2 separate regions of the Homo sapiens genome follow, and region 2 is linked to region 1. Evidence: promoter capture Hi-C in human tissues and cell types (Jung and others, 2019). All regions are on one chromosome and are shown on one strand. The core of a region is centred on a gene start or on the middle of the fragment in contact, and the rest is flanking DNA. Distances in the headings are between cores, read along the strand shown.

The links. The method cuts DNA at HindIII sites, captures the fragments that hold promoters and counts their contacts. A contact is called where the count stands out against the background at its distance.
Region 2: a contact is called between the fragment with the promoter of PIAS4 here and the fragment with the promoter of PIP5K1C in region 1, in 1 of the 25 tissues and cell types used here (lymphoblastoid cells).

The regions. Positions count from the first base shown.
Region 1 is chr19:3,696,863-3,703,994 of GRCh38, forward strand. It overlaps PIP5K1C (phosphatidylinositol-4-phosphate 5-kinase type 1 gamma), which reads right to left and starts at 3,606. Exons shown (of 18, transcript NM_012398.3): 1 at 3,435-3,606. The coding sequence starts at 3,528. RefSeq lists an enhancer at 2,663-3,446 and silencers at 3,145-3,284, 3,365-3,854. The HindIII fragment of the contact is 9,003 bases long and covers 1-6,843 here.
Region 2 is chr19:4,001,775-4,009,508 of GRCh38, forward strand. PIAS4 (protein inhibitor of activated STAT 4) reads left to right here and starts at 5,962. Exons shown (of 11, transcript NM_015897.4): 1 at 5,962-6,013. The coding sequence starts at 5,987. RefSeq lists enhancers at 4,988-5,879, 5,396-5,525, 5,880-6,770 and silencers at 5,726-6,025, 6,056-6,115. The HindIII fragment of the contact is 22,791 bases long and covers 1-7,734 here.

The DNA.
Region 1 (7,132 bases), core at 2,356-4,855:
GGACTCGGGCCGCTGGTTTTTAATGGGGTCCTCCTGGAATGTGGGACAGGGAGCAGAGGAAGAGCAGGGGCGCCAGGCCTGGCTCAGGGGGCAAAGGAGGACTGAGCTGGACCGAGGAGGACTGAGCTGGACGGAGGAGGATCGAGCTGGACCGAGGAGGACCGAGCTGGACAAAGGAGGACTGAGCTGGACCGGGGAGGACCGAGCTGGACCAAGGAGGACCGAGCTGGACCGAGGAGGACCAAGGAGGACCGAGCCAGACGAAGGAGGACTGAGCCGGACGAAGGAGAACCGAGCCGGACAGAGGAGGACCAAGCTGGACTGGGGAGGACTGAGCCGGATGGAGGAGGACTAAGCTGGACCGGGGAGGACCGAGCTGGACCCGGGAGGACCGAGCCAGATGGAGGAGGACCAAGCCGGATAGAGGACCGAGCCGGATGGAGGAGGACTGGGCCGGACGGAGGAGGACCGAGCTGGACCGGGGAGGACCGAGCCAGACAGAGGAGGACTGAGCCAGACGGAGGAGGACTGAGCTGGACCGGGGAGTACTCAGCCAGACGGAGGAGGACCGAGCTGTACGGAGGAGGACCGAGCTGGACCGAGGAGGACCGAGCTGGACCGGGGAGGACCGAGCTGGACCAGGGAGGACCAAGCTGGACCCGGGAGGACCAAGCTGGACCCGGGAGAGGCAGAGGACAGGGAAGGAGTCAGTGGGTTCTGGGCCAGTTCTGAAGGTGAAGCTGCCATCATTTGCTGCCAGATCAGCCGTGGAAGTGGGGCAGGGGCAGGGATGCAGCTGACCTTTCCAGGGCATCACAGAGACAGATCAGCCGTGGGAGTGGGGCAGGGGCAGGGATGGAGCTGACCGTTCTGGGGCATCACAGAGACAGGACAGCCTGGGAGAGGCTCAGACACGCCCAGGCCACAGCTCAGACCAAACTCCACCACAGGCCATCGGCCCACACAGTGGGCACAGCCGCATCCCAAGCCCCGGCCTTCCCGAGACCGCCCCCACGTGCCCCACGGCCACGGCCCATGGAGACGCCATTCAGGCCACGCCTCGGGAGCCAGGAGCCCAGGCAATTAGAGGAACCAAATTCTAAACACCAACGAGACATTGCTTTGCCTCCCATCGGATCAGCCGAAATCGCCAAGGACGATGACACTGGGAGCTGGCAGTGCCGTGGGAAACGGGCAGCCTCCCTCGGCCCCTGTCGGACAAGGCTCCCGCTGTAGCTGAGCTTTCTGGAAGGTGTCGCCATCGCTTCTAACAGTGAGCGGTGACTCCAGAAACCACGGGCATGGGCCTCAGCAGGGGCCTGGAGGCACCGATGGTGGAGAGGCCGGAAAGGGGTGGCCAACCGGCACGACAATCACCAAGCACGAGCGCCAACTCATCCCAGGCTCAGCCCCTAGCACACACGGTCATCACCCCACTTCACAGACGGGACGCTGAAGCCCGGGGAAGTGACGGCCACACAGCACCTGAAGCGCGGAGCTGGGAGGGGGACATCGGCGGGACCAACTCTGGGGCTCCCCCTTAACCACTGCCTGGCGCTCGCCCTCTCTACAAACCGATACCAACATAGGGTGGGGAGACTCCAGATGACCAGAGATAAAAAGCAAGCAGTTCACAGAGTCATAAACGTGTGGCATTTCTCACCAGGGCCGTCCTGCCCCCAGGGGACACTGAACGGTGTCTGGGTCACTTGTGGCTGTCACAACTGGCAGGTGCTCCTGGCATGGAGTGGGCAGAAGCCAGGGGCGTTGCTCAGCACCCCTAATTTCCTGACTCAAAATACCTCTGCCAAGGCACAGAAGCCCCAGTGAGGCATGAAACCATCTCGGTGAAGAACAAGCAGGCCCCTTTATGTGCTCACGTCTCTGTGGCCCAGCCAGGCACAACCTAAACTCACCAGCGCTAACATCAGGAGGGATGGCGTTGGAGGAGTGAGGCAACTCTGAATTTTAAACATTCAGAAGCAGTATATGGCCAGCTGGGGTCAGATTTCTGTGGATTTCAGGGATGGGCAGAGATGCCAGACCCTGACCTTCCAGCCCTCCCCGGCCCCCCACCCCCACCCCCCCACTCCCCCGCTCTCCCACCCCACCACCATGCTCAGTCTGGAGCTGGCAACTTTATCTGTCCCCGGTGCTCCCAGAGCCCCTGATAAGATGAATGGTCGCGGTGTGGTTTTCTTTTGGTCAGCGAGTCCTGGGCTACTTTGTCTCTGACCAGCTGGGGTCAGAGGGCTGACAGCGGAAGTTGGGGGGCCCAAGAAAGGAACCCGGGCTGGGGCCTGGTGCCCTGCCTGGGTTCCTCCACCATGTCTCTTGCTGGCCAGGCCAGGACACCGGCTGCCCGCAAAGAAAGGGGCGAGGCCACTGGCTCTGGGGAAGGAACCGGGTCACCTACCAAGCGGTTCCAGATGGCCGCCGGGAGGGAAGCCACGAGTGTCTTTCAAGGCGGGGGGTGGGGGGGGGACTTGATGACTTCCACACTCTCTCTCTCTCCAGACATCTCCCCAACTCCCAGGCAGCACGCATCGCCCGCCCGCCCGCTTGCCCGCCTGCCAACCAAGGAAGCTTCGGGAGGCCTGGGGGGAGAAGGAGGACGGATGCCCGTGTGGGTGTCTACAGAGACGCTGCTGCTGGCTGCCTGGGAGGAGCAGAGGATTTTGTGAATCCGGAAACTTCCGATTTGGGAGCTTGTGACCTCGACTGAGAAGGAACTGTTCCCTTCCTCTGGGCTCTGCACACCGTCCCCACAGAAGGGAAGGCCCAGCTGCCGCCACCTACCCGGCTGGAGGTCCAGGAAGCAGCTAAAGGGGGCATGAGACAGCCGTGCCCCCCGCCCAGCCCGCAGCCCCACCAGTGTGTCCTGGGGGAAGGCTCGGGGAGAGGAAAAGGGGGCGACAGGGCACCCTGTGTGCACAGCCGGGGCGGTGGAGGCATCTTGAGATGTAACCCTTTTCCTCCCCTCATTTTAGCAGGGAGGTAAACTGAGGCCCAGGAAGGTGAGGAAAGGTCGCGCACCCGGACTCAGGTCTGGGGACTTACAGAAAGGGAGGTGACATCAGGAGGTGGGCACGCACGGCCTCAGAGACCCCCGCCTCCACCCAAGCAGCCGCCACTCACACGACGGGCAGCCCCTGGGAGCGGGTCAGGCAGAACGGGGATCCCCAGCGGCGCCCACGCCGAGTCGCCCCCGGCCCGGGAGCGGTGGGAGGTAGCCCCTCGCAGGCCTCCCGCTTCCCGGCGCGGCTTCAGCCCCGTCCTCCCCGCGGCTCCAGGGGACTGCCCCGCCCCAGGCTCCTGGAACCGGCGGCGCCCCCGCAGCGACCGTGCAGCCCCCGCCCCGGCCCCGCAGCCCCGCGACTCTCGGCGCTCGGACGAGCCCAGCGGGCCGCAGCCCCGGGAGGCCGGGCCGTTACCTGCCGCCGCCCCGCTCTCTGCCGCCCACGCCGCCTCCGAGGGCACGGCCCCCGCCTCAGCGCTCTCCGCCTCGTCCGGTACCTCCAGCTCCATGGCCGCGCGCGGACGGCGGCGGGGGCGCCCGAGGGGGACCCGAGCTGCGACCGCCGCCGCCGAACAACAAGCGCCGCCGGCCAAGGGAGGGCGCGCCGGGCCGGCGCGGGGCGGACGGGGCGGGGCCTGCGTGCGTGCGACGCCGCGGACGGCGCGCGGCCAATCGGGGCTCGGGGGCGGGGCCTGCTTGCGACCCGCAGCCAGGAGCGCCTCGAGTGCCCCCTCGCGCCCAGGGGTGGGAGTACAGAGCCAGGCTCGCCATTCCATCGTATTAGGTCAGTAAGATTGACAGGCACGATACGTATCAATAACATTGCTGTGCACAACACATACCAATAACATGGATCTACACAACACATGACAATAATATGGATCTATACAGCACGTGCCAATAATATGGATGTACACAGCACATGCCAATAACATGGATCTAAACAGCACATGCCAATAACAGGGACCTGCACAGCGCATGACAATAACATGGATCTGGCCGGGCGCGGTGACTCACGCCTATATTCCCGGCACTTTGGGAGGCCGAAGAGGGCGGATCACCTGAGGTCAGGAGTTCAAGACCATCCTGACCAACATGGTGAAATCCTGTCTCTACTAAAAATACAAAAAATAGCTGGGCGTGGTGGCACATGCCTGTAATCGCGGCTACTCGGGAGGCTGAGGCAGGAGAATCGCTGGAACCCAGGAGGGAGAGGTTGCAGTGAGCTGAGATCGCACCATTGCCCTCCAGCCTGGGCCACAGAGTGAGACTCTGTCCCAAAAAAAACCACACATGGACCTACACAGCACATGCCAATAACATGGAGTTACCCAATGCATGCCAATAACATGGATATACACAATACATGCCAATAACACGGATATGCACAATACATGCCAATAACATGGATATACACAATACATGCCAATAACATGAATCTATACTATATCATTGACATGGATCTACATAAAACATACAAATAGCATTGCTATATGCAATACATGCCAATCACATTGCTATACACAATGAATACCAATAACATTGATCTACACAATACATGTAACTAACATTGATACACACACTACATGTCAATAACATTGATATACACACTACATGCCAATAACATGGATATACACACTACATGCCAATAACATTGATATACACACTACATGCCAATAACATTAATGTACACACTACATGTCAATAACATTGATATACACACTACATGTCAATAACATTGATATGCACAAAATATACCAATAACAGTGATATACACAGTACATGTAAATAATATTGATCTACACAGGGCCGGGCGCGGTGGCTCATGCCTGTAATCCCAAGACTTTGGGAGGCCGAGGCGGGCGGATCACGAGGTCAGGAGATTGAGACCATCCTGGTTAACATGGTGAAACCCCGTCTCTACTAAAAATACAAAAAATTAGCCAGGCGTGGTGGCGGGCGCCTGTAGTCCCAGCTACTTGGGAGGCTAAGGCAGGAGAATAGGGTGAACCTGGGAGGCAGAGCTTGCAGTGAGCTGAGATCGTGTCACTGCACTCCAGCCTGGGCAACAGAGCGAGACTCCATATCAAAAAAAAATATATATATATATAGATCTACACAATACATGTTATTAACATTGATCTACGCAATACATATCAATAACATTTGCAATTAACTACCTGTTTATTATCATATTGCAAATAATATTTATATTCCATCGTTTGTATTACGTAAGTATAGATATGTTATTGTTTTCTTTATATTATTTTATCAATAATAATACAGTTTGCTATTATAAGAAACATATAATTATAGAAATACATAATAAATTATATATATTTATGCAAATGTAAGTAGCAATATTTATATCCTTCTTTTTTTTTTTTGAGATGGAGTCTTGCTGTTGTTGCCCAGGCTGGAGTGCAGGGGGGCGATCTGAGCTCACTGCAACCTCTGCCTCCAGGGTTCAAGTGATTCTCCTGCCTCACCCTCCCAAGTAACTAGGACTACAGGTACGTGCCACCACGCCCGGCTAATTTTTGTATTTTTAGTAGAGATGAGGTTTCGCCATGTTGGCCAGGCTGGTCTTGAACGCCTGACCTCGTGATCTTCCCGCCTCAGCTTCCCAAAGTGCTGGGATTACAGGTGTGAGCCACTGCGCCCGGCCATATTTATGTTCTTTATATAAGCACATAATAAGGCTTATGTTGTTTATGTTAATTTAAGTAATAACGTTTATATTATTTACATAAATGTAAATCATAATGATTATATTACCTATGCACATAAATAATGTTTGGGGTGGGCACAGAGGCTCCCGCCTGTAATTCCAGCACTTTGGGAGGCCAAGGCAGGAGGATTACTTGAGCTCAGGAGTTCTAGACCAGCCTGGGTAACATAGTGAGCCCTCTCATCTCTACAAAAAAAATTTTTTTAATTAGCTAGGTGTAGTGAGACCCCTCATCTTTACAAAAAAAATTGTTTTTTAATTAGCCAGCTACTTAGTAGGCTAAGGTGGGAGGACTGCTTGAGCCCGGGAACTCAAGGCTGCAGTGAGCTATGATCGCACCACTGCACTCTGGCCTGGGCAACAGAGAAAGACCCCGTCTGTCCCCGCAAAAAAAAAAAACAAACAAAAAAAACAAAAAGACAAATTCTGTGTGGTTCCACTCCTAGGAGGTCCCTAGAGTTGTCACATTCACAGAGACAGAAAGTAGGATGGGGGGTGCCAGGGGCTTGGGGGGAGACGAGGAGTGAGTGTTTCACAGGGGCAGACTTCCAGTCTCAGAAGATGAGAACATTCTGGAGATGATGGCGGTGATGTTTGCACAGCCATGGGAATGTGCTTAAGGCCACGGAGCTGTGCTCTTAGACATGGTGAAAATGGGCCGGGCGCGGGGGCTCACACCTGCAATCCCAGCACTTTGGGAGGCCGAGGTGGGCGGATTACCTGAGGTCGGGAGTTCAAGACCAGCCTGACTAACATGGAGAAACCCCGTCTCTACTAAAAATACAAAATTAGCCAGGCGTGGTGGCGCGTGCCTGTAATCCCAGCTACTCGGGAGGCTGAGGCAGGAGAATCACTTGAACCCGAAAGGCAGAGGTTGCAGTGAGCCAACATGGCACCACTGCACTCCAGCCTGGGCGACAGAGCAAGACTCTGTCTCCAAAAAAAAAAAAAAAAAAAAAAGAAGAAGAAGAAGAAGAAAGAAATGGTGAAAATGGGCCGGGTGCGGTGGCTCACGCCTGTCATCCCAGCACTTTGGGAGGCCGAGGCTGGCAGATCACCTAAGGTCAGGAGTTCAAGACCAGCCTGGTCAATGTGGTGAAACCCTGTCTCTACTAAAAATACCAAAAAATTAGCTGGGCATAGTGGCACAGGCCTATAATCCCAGCTACTCGGGAGGCTGAGGCAGGAGAATCACTTGAACCTGAGAGGCAGAGGTTGCAGTGAGCCAACATGGCACCACTGCACTCCAGCCTGGGCAACAGAGCAAGACTCGAAAAAAAAGAAATGGTGAAAATTGTGAATTGTATGTTGTGCGTATTTTACTACCATTTTTTGTTTTTTCTTTTTTGAGATGAGTCTTGCTCTGTTACCCAGGCTGGAGT
Region 2 (7,734 bases), core at 4,712-7,211, 310 kb after region 1:
GCTGGGATTACAGGCGTGAGCCACAGTGGCCAGCCTCTTCCTGTTATTTCAATGCAAATCCTATACCATTTCTTCTGTAAATATGCTTGGCAGTTATTTGTAACTGATAAGGACTCTTCATTGATTTATTATAATTATTTTAGAGACAGGGTCTAGCTATCACTCAGGCCAGAGTACAGTGGTGCTATCATAGCTCACTGCAGCCTCAAAGTCCTGGGCTCCAGTGATCCTCCTGCCTCAGTCTCTGGAGTAGGTGGCACTAAAGGTATGTGCCTCCATGGCCAGCTAATTTAAGAAAAAATTTGGGGTCAGGCGCGGTGGCTCACGCCTGTAATCCCAGCACTTTGGGAGGCCGAGGCGGGCGGATCACGAGGTCAGGAGATCAAGACCATCCTGGCTAACACAGTGAAACCCCTTCTCTACTAAAAATATAAAAAATTAGCCAGGCGTGCTGGCAGGTGCCTGTAGTCCCAGCTACTCAGGTGGCTGAGGCAGGAGAATGGCGTGAACCCTGGAAGTGGAGCTTGCAGTGAGCCGAGATCGTGCCACCCAGCCTGGGCAACAGGGCAAGACTCTCTCAAAAAAAAAAAAAAATGGGGGGGGAGCTGGGCGCAGTGGCTCACACCTGTAATCCCAGCACTTTGGGAGGCCGAGGAAGGCAGATCACCTGAGGTCCAGAGTTGGAGACCAGCCTGGCCAACATGGTGAAACCCCGTTTCTGCTAAAAATACAAAAATTAGCCGGGTGTGGTAGCACGCGGCTGTAGTCTCAGTTAGTTGGGAGGCTGAGGCAGAAGAATTGCTGGAACCAAGGAGACGGAGGTTGCAGTGAGCCGAGATCACGCCATTGCACTGCAGCCTGGGTGACAGAGCCAGACTCCATCTCAAAAAAATAATAATAATTTTTTTGTAGAGATGGGGATCTCGTGTTATTTTGCCCTGGCTGGTCTCAAACTCTTGGGCTTAAGCAATCCTCCTGCCTCAGCCTCCTAAAGGGCTGGGATTATAGGCTTGAAGCAGGCACCCAGCCCAAAACATATTTTAAAACACAGACACAGTACCATGATTACACAGAACCTTCAAACCACAAGGGTTGCAGGAATCTACAAGTGAGACAAAATTTCTCTCAACTGCCAAGCACGCTGTCTCATGCCTGTAATCTCAGCACTTTTGGGAGATTGAGGCAGGTGGATCATTTAAGGTCAGGAGTTCAAGACCAGCCTGGGCAACATGGCGACACCCCGTCTCTACTAAAAATACCAAAATTAGCTGAGTGTGGTGGCGCCCGCCTGTAATCGCAGCTACTCAGGAGGCTGAGGCACGAGAATTGCTTGAACCTGGGAAGCGGAGGTTGTAGTGAGCTGAGATCGCGCCACTGCACTCCAAACTCGGCAATAGAGACTCTGTCTCAAAAAATAATAATAATAAATAATAGAACCAAACACACACAGAGGAAGGTACATGTAAAAACGGGTGCAATCGAAATAATGTCTGCACTCGAGTTGATTCCATTATACTAACATCAACGCCCAGGTTTTGACAACATAACATGGCTATGTAAAACTTTTTTTGAATCTTTTTTTTTTTTTTTTTTTTGAGATGGAGTCTCGCTCTGTCACCCAGGCTGGAGTGCAATGGCGCAATCTCAGTTAACTGCAACCTCCGCCTCCTGGGTTCAAGCTTTTTGTTTGTTTGTTTGTTTTACATGGAGCGTTGCTCTTGTTGTCTGGGCTGGAGTGTGATGGCACAATCTCGGCTCATTGCAACCTCTGTCTCCTGGGGTCAAGCGATTCTCCTGCCTCAGCCTCCTGAGTAGCTGAGCTTACAGGCTCCCGCCACCATGCCCAGCTAATTTTTGTATTTTTAGTAGAGACAGGAGTTTCACCATGTTGGCCAGGCTGGTCTCAAACTCCTGACCTCAGTTGACCCGCCCGCCTTGGCCTCCCAAAGTGCAGGGATTACAGGTGTGAGCCATGGAGCCCAGCCAGTTATAAAAATACTATCACTGGGGAAAGCTGGGAGAAAGGTGCACAAATCTCTCTGTACTATTTTTGCAACTTCTTGTGAATCTGAATCTTCACCAAAACAAATACAAATTATACTTAAAAACAAAACCTGGCCAGGTGTGGTGGCTCACACCTGTAATCCCAGCACTTTGGGAGGCTGAGGCTGGCAGATCCCTTAAGGTCAGGAGTTCGAGACCAGCCTGGCCAACACGGTCAAACCTCGTCTCTACTAAAAATACCAAAAATTAGCCGGTGTGATGATGTGCACCTGTAGTCCCCACTGCCCGGGAGGCTGAGGCAGGAGAATCACTTGATCCTGATAGGTGGAGGTTGAAGTGAGCCAAGATCCCACCACTGCACTCCAGCCTGAGTGACAGAGAGAGACCCTGTCTCAAGAAAATTAATAAATTAAATAAAATTACAAAAATGAGCCAGGTATGGTGGCACACACCTGTAATCCCAGCTATTCGGGAGGCTGAAGCACAAGAATCAGTTGAACCTGAGAGGCCGAGGTTGCGGTGAGTCGAGATTGGCACCACCACACTCCAGCCTGGGTGACAGAGCAAGACCCTGTCTAAAACAAAACAAAACAAAACAAAAACAAAAAAACCCAATCCCCCGCAGAATCAGCAGGGCCGGAATGAAGGTAAGACTCATACGTGCAATGGCAGAGCTGGGGTTTTGCTGTCAATGGACAACATTTCAACAAATCTAAGGACCTTAACCGGCTTCATTGCAATTTGCTACACTTCATTCCATAAAATAGGATAACTGTTCCAATCAGTTGGGCAGAGGAGGTTGGCTCTACAGGAAGAGAGGGGTTGTAGAGAGCAAAATCAAAGAACAGGCTGGGCGGGGTGGCTCATGTCTGTAATCCCAGCACTTTGGGAGGATCCCCGAACTCGGAAGTTTGAGAGCAGCCTGGGCAACTTGGCAAAACCCCATCTCGACAAAAAATACAAGAATTAGCCAGGCGTGGTGGTGTGCACCTGTAGTCCCAGCTACTCAGGAGGCTGAGGTGGGAAGATCACCTGAGCCCGGGCGGTTGAGGCTGTAGTGAGCCATGACTGAGCCACTGCACAACAACCTGGGAGACAGAAACCTATCTCAAAACCAACAGCAACAACAACAACAAAAACCCAACAGCAAAGAATGTGTTAACTCATTAGTGTTACCATCAGGTTGTTTCAGGCTAGTTTTTTTTTTTTTTTTTTTTTTTGAGACGGAGTCTCCCTCTGTCGCCTAGGCTGGAGTGCAGTGGCGCGATCTCGGCTCACTGCAAGCTCCGACTTCCGTGTTCATGCCATTCTCCTGCCTCAGCCTCCCAAGTAGCTGGGACTAGAGGCGCCCGCCACCAAGCCCGGCTAATTTTTTGTATTTTTAGTAGAGACGGGGTTTCACCGTGTTAGCCAGGGTGGTCTCGATCTCCTGACCTCGTGATCCACCCGCCCTGGCCTCCCAAAGTGCTGGGATTACAGGCGTGAGCCACCACACCCGGCCAGGCTAGTTTTTTTGTGTAAGGATTAAAGAAATTAAGCAGAGGGAATTTTAGGACATTGGCCACTGAAGGCTGAAACTGGCCTGTTTGGAAAATTGGTTGGCCGGATCATCTAAGGTCAGTAGTTCTCGACTAGTCTGGCCAACATGGCGAAACCCCGTCTCTACTAAAAATACAAAAAAATTAGCCGGGTGTGGTGGCGGGCACCTGTAATTCCAGCTACTCAGGAGGCTGAGGCAGGAGAATCGCTTGAACCTGGAAGGCAGAGGTTGCAGTGAGCCGAGATTGCGCCATTGCATTCCAGCCTAGGCGACAAATGTGAGACTCCTCCTGGAAAGAAAGGGAGAGAGAGAGAGAGAGAGAGAGAGAAAGAAAGAGAGAAAATAAAATAAAAGAGAAAATGGGCTGATAGGGCTCCCTCCTGGTTTTCCCAAAGGTCAGATAACAACTTAGCTTCGTCATTGTGACTTAGAATCTGAGTGTGACTAGCTGCATTTTGTTTATTCCTGTGTCTTGGTGCCTAGCACAAGAGTTTAGTCTAAAACAACCGCCTCCTATAATTTTGTCGCCCAGGCTGGAGTGTAGTGGCATGATCAAAGCTCACTGCAGCCTCCAACTCCTGGGCTCAAGCGATCCTCCTGCCTCAGCCTCCTAAGTAGCTGGGACCACAGGCGCACACTCCTACGTCTGGCTCTTTACTTAAAATTTTGGTATTTCAGGCCGGGTGCGGTGGCTAACACCCATGATCCCAGCACTTTGCGAGGCCGAGGCCGGTGGATCACCTGAGGTCAGGAGTTCATAGACCAACCTGACCAACACAGTGAAACTCCATCTCTACTAAAAATACAAAAATCAGCTGAGCGTGGTGGTGCCCACCTGTAGTCCCAGCTACTCGGGAGGCTGAGGCAGGAGAATCACTTGAACCCGGGAGGCAGAGGATGCACTGAGCCGAAATTGCGCCACTGCACTCCAGCCTGGCGCCACTGCACTCCAGCCTGGTGACAAAGCAAGACTCCGTCTAAAAAAAAAAAAATTAGCTGGGTATGGTGGTGCATACCTGTAATCCCAGCTACTCGGGAGGCTGAGGCAGGGGAATCGCTTGAACCCAGGAGGCAGAGGTTGCAGTGAGTGGAGATCGCTCCATTGCACTCCAGCCTGGGCAACACAGCAAGGCTCTCAAAAAAAAAAAAAAAAAAGGCTGGGCATGATGGCTCATGCCTGTAATCCTAGTACTTTGGGAGGTTGAAGCGGGCAGATCACTTGAGGTCAGGGGTTGCAGAAAAGCCTGGCCAAAAAAAAAATTAGCTGGGCGTGGTGGCAGTCGCCTGTAATCCCACCTACTTGGGAGGCTGAGGCAGGAGAATCCCTTGAACCCGGGAGATGGAGGTTGCAGTGAGCTGAGATCGCGCCATTGCACTCCAGCCTGGGCAACAAGAGTAAAACTCCGTCTCGAAAATAAATAAATAAATAACAATTTGGTATTTCATCCATCATGGACTCTTTTGCACTGATTTTTTTATGTTTAAAGTGTTGGACTAGCCAGGTGTGGTGACTCGCGCCTGTAATCCCAGCACTGTGGGAGGCCCAGACAGAAGGATCATTTAAGCCCAGACATTCGAGACCACCCTGGATAACATAATGAGATCCTCGTCTCTACAAAAATAAAAATAAAAAATAAATTGCACTAAAATACTTGATTATTGAAGTTTGAAATCCACTTCTACGGGCACGAAGCCACTTAGCTCCAAAGCCAAGGAGCGCTTTGGAGAAGAGGTCCCAACTGGTGCAGATCCAAGGTTTCCCATGGGTGGGGAGGCAGGATGGGGGGGGCGCCTGCAAAGAGGTGAGGGCTGTACGATCTCCAAGGAATTTGGGAGCAGGGGTCCCGCTTTTCTCCGCCGGGCGCCCCCAGCCAGCTGGTTGCCGAGCCCACGCCCCATCTGCACACCAGGACCCGGATGTGCAGCGCGCGGGGTGTCTGGGCCCGTGGAGCCTGCACCGCGCTGCGCTGCAAGGCGCCTCACTGTACGCACTGGCGGCCGTTGCGGCGGAGCAACCATCCCCTGCCCGACGCCGCCGGGAGTCTGGAGACGCACCTGGCGGCCGCCGCGCGCAGGAAGCCACGGCACCTAGCTGCATTGTTGTCGCTGCCACCGCCCCCTCTCGCCTTCCCTCCCTAGAGGAAACCGAGCACCCGTCCCCACCTGCGCAGGGCTAGTACCACTTTAAGGAGTCAGGCGCCGCCGGGGTAGGCGTGGTCGCCGCGAGCGGGGGGGGGGGCGCTGGTGTAGGACGGACCTGATTGGCCGGAGGCCCGGGCGGTGGCCGCGCGCGCCTGCGCAGGAGGCAGCAGCGCGCACCGGCGGCGGGAGGAGCGCGCGCGGGTGCTAATTGGCCCGGGCGGCGGCCCCGCCCGCGAGTGGTGAGCGGTCACGTGACGCGACGGCTGGGGGCTCCCGGCGCGGGGGACGCTGGTGACCAAGATGGCGGCGGAGCTGGTGGAGGCCAAAGTGAGTGAGCGGTGGCGGCGCCGGCCGGGGCAAGTGGGCGAGAGGGCGGGGGCCGGGCCGCAGGTCGAGGTCTGCGCCTTCTGTCCGGGGCCCCACAGCGCGGCCGGCCCGCGGCTCGCCGTCCCGGCCCCCAGACCCCGACCCCCGGTCTCAGGGTGAGGGCGGGGGGCGGGGAGGCCGGGGGCGGGGCCCTCCTGCCTCACCCAGGTCTTCGCGCCGGGGGTCGCTCCCCCGGCTTCAGGCAGGGTCCCCCCACCCAGCCCGAGCCCTTAGGGTCCCGGTCCCTGAGCGCCAGGCCAGGGCCGCGCCTCCCGGTTGAGGCACCGTCCCGCCGGGATGCGGGACGTGTTGAGCTACTCGTTGCCCTCTTGGTTCCGAGCCGGGGTCCTTGCTTTTTGGCTGGTGTGTTGGGGGGAGTGTCTGCGCCTCCCCGCCCACAGGGCTCCCAGGACTGCTATCTGGGTCTCGTCCCCGCCCAACAGGCCAGGCTGGGGTTTGCGAGTCTCCTGCTCGGAAGGGTCCCCCGAGTCCTGGATAGTGTCCTGCCACCGTCCAGGTGGAGGAGTCAGGGCCCTGAGACCACCCCCAAGACACGGCACGTCCTCTTGGGGTCTGGAGTTCAGGCTCGGTCTTGAGCCCCTCTTCAGCTCCTGCATTGGTCCCAGAACCCCGCCCCCTTCCCGACACCGTCTCTCACACGCCGGAGTGGGCGCTTGGGGGAAGGCTGGGCCCTCCCTTTCCCTCCCCATAGGATGGAGTTCGGACCACTCTTCTTGGTCACAGACCTTCTTTATTCTCCTTTTTTTAATCTTAAATCCTGGACTGTGCTTTGGTCCTACCTCGTTCCTCTCGGGACAGAATCTGAGGCTACTGATTCTGCTTCAGGGGGCTCTAAACCTCACCTGTGCAGCATCAGATACTGTCCTCAAACCTTGGCTGCTTCTCCTATTTTCTGCTCTTGAGCGAGTCTACTTCTTAGGTCAGACACCCACCCTCCCCCTACACAGCCCCCAGAACTTTTATGCACCCCAACTTTGGTTTCTAAGGTCCCCTCTCTTTCTGCCTATTCTCTTTTGTTGATCTCTGGAGGGTCCCCACTGGGTCCAAGGCTGGCCTCTTTAGAACAACTGTTGCTGCTGCTCTATTATACTTTGGGTCCTGTCCAGGTCCCATGTCCCATAGATACCATCTCCTAGCTTGGAACCACTTTTAATCATCCTGGGATTGAGCTCAGAGTATCCCCATTCCAGGGGATGTACCTTCTTGTAGGTGCCTACCTAGAGCTGAGGGTCTAAAACCCTTAGAAGTGCCCGCAAGGCCACGGCTTCCGGGGAGGTTAGGGGACCTCTCCCTCCCCCATCCCCTTTCACATCTTCCCTCCCCACGGTCCTGACCTGTACGTATCTTCTTCTCGGTCCTCTCACATTACCCCCTGGGATCTGAAAACACAGCACTCAGGGCTCTGTGATTATAGCATATACCTCTCTTCGCCTCCCAACCCTACACCCCTGCGCACACTTCTGCTCCTCTCTAGAGTTTTGAAAAGTGGAGACTCGCCCTGGAGATGTGGAGGCCTGAACTCTGTAAACCCAAAGTGGCAGGCTCTGGGCTTGAAGTGTCCTGGAGTCCTGAAATGTAACCTCCCGTTTCGGGGCTTGGAGCTGTGACCCTGGACCCCAACCCCCACCCTGGCTGAGGGCAGGGTCTGCACTCTTTTGTAC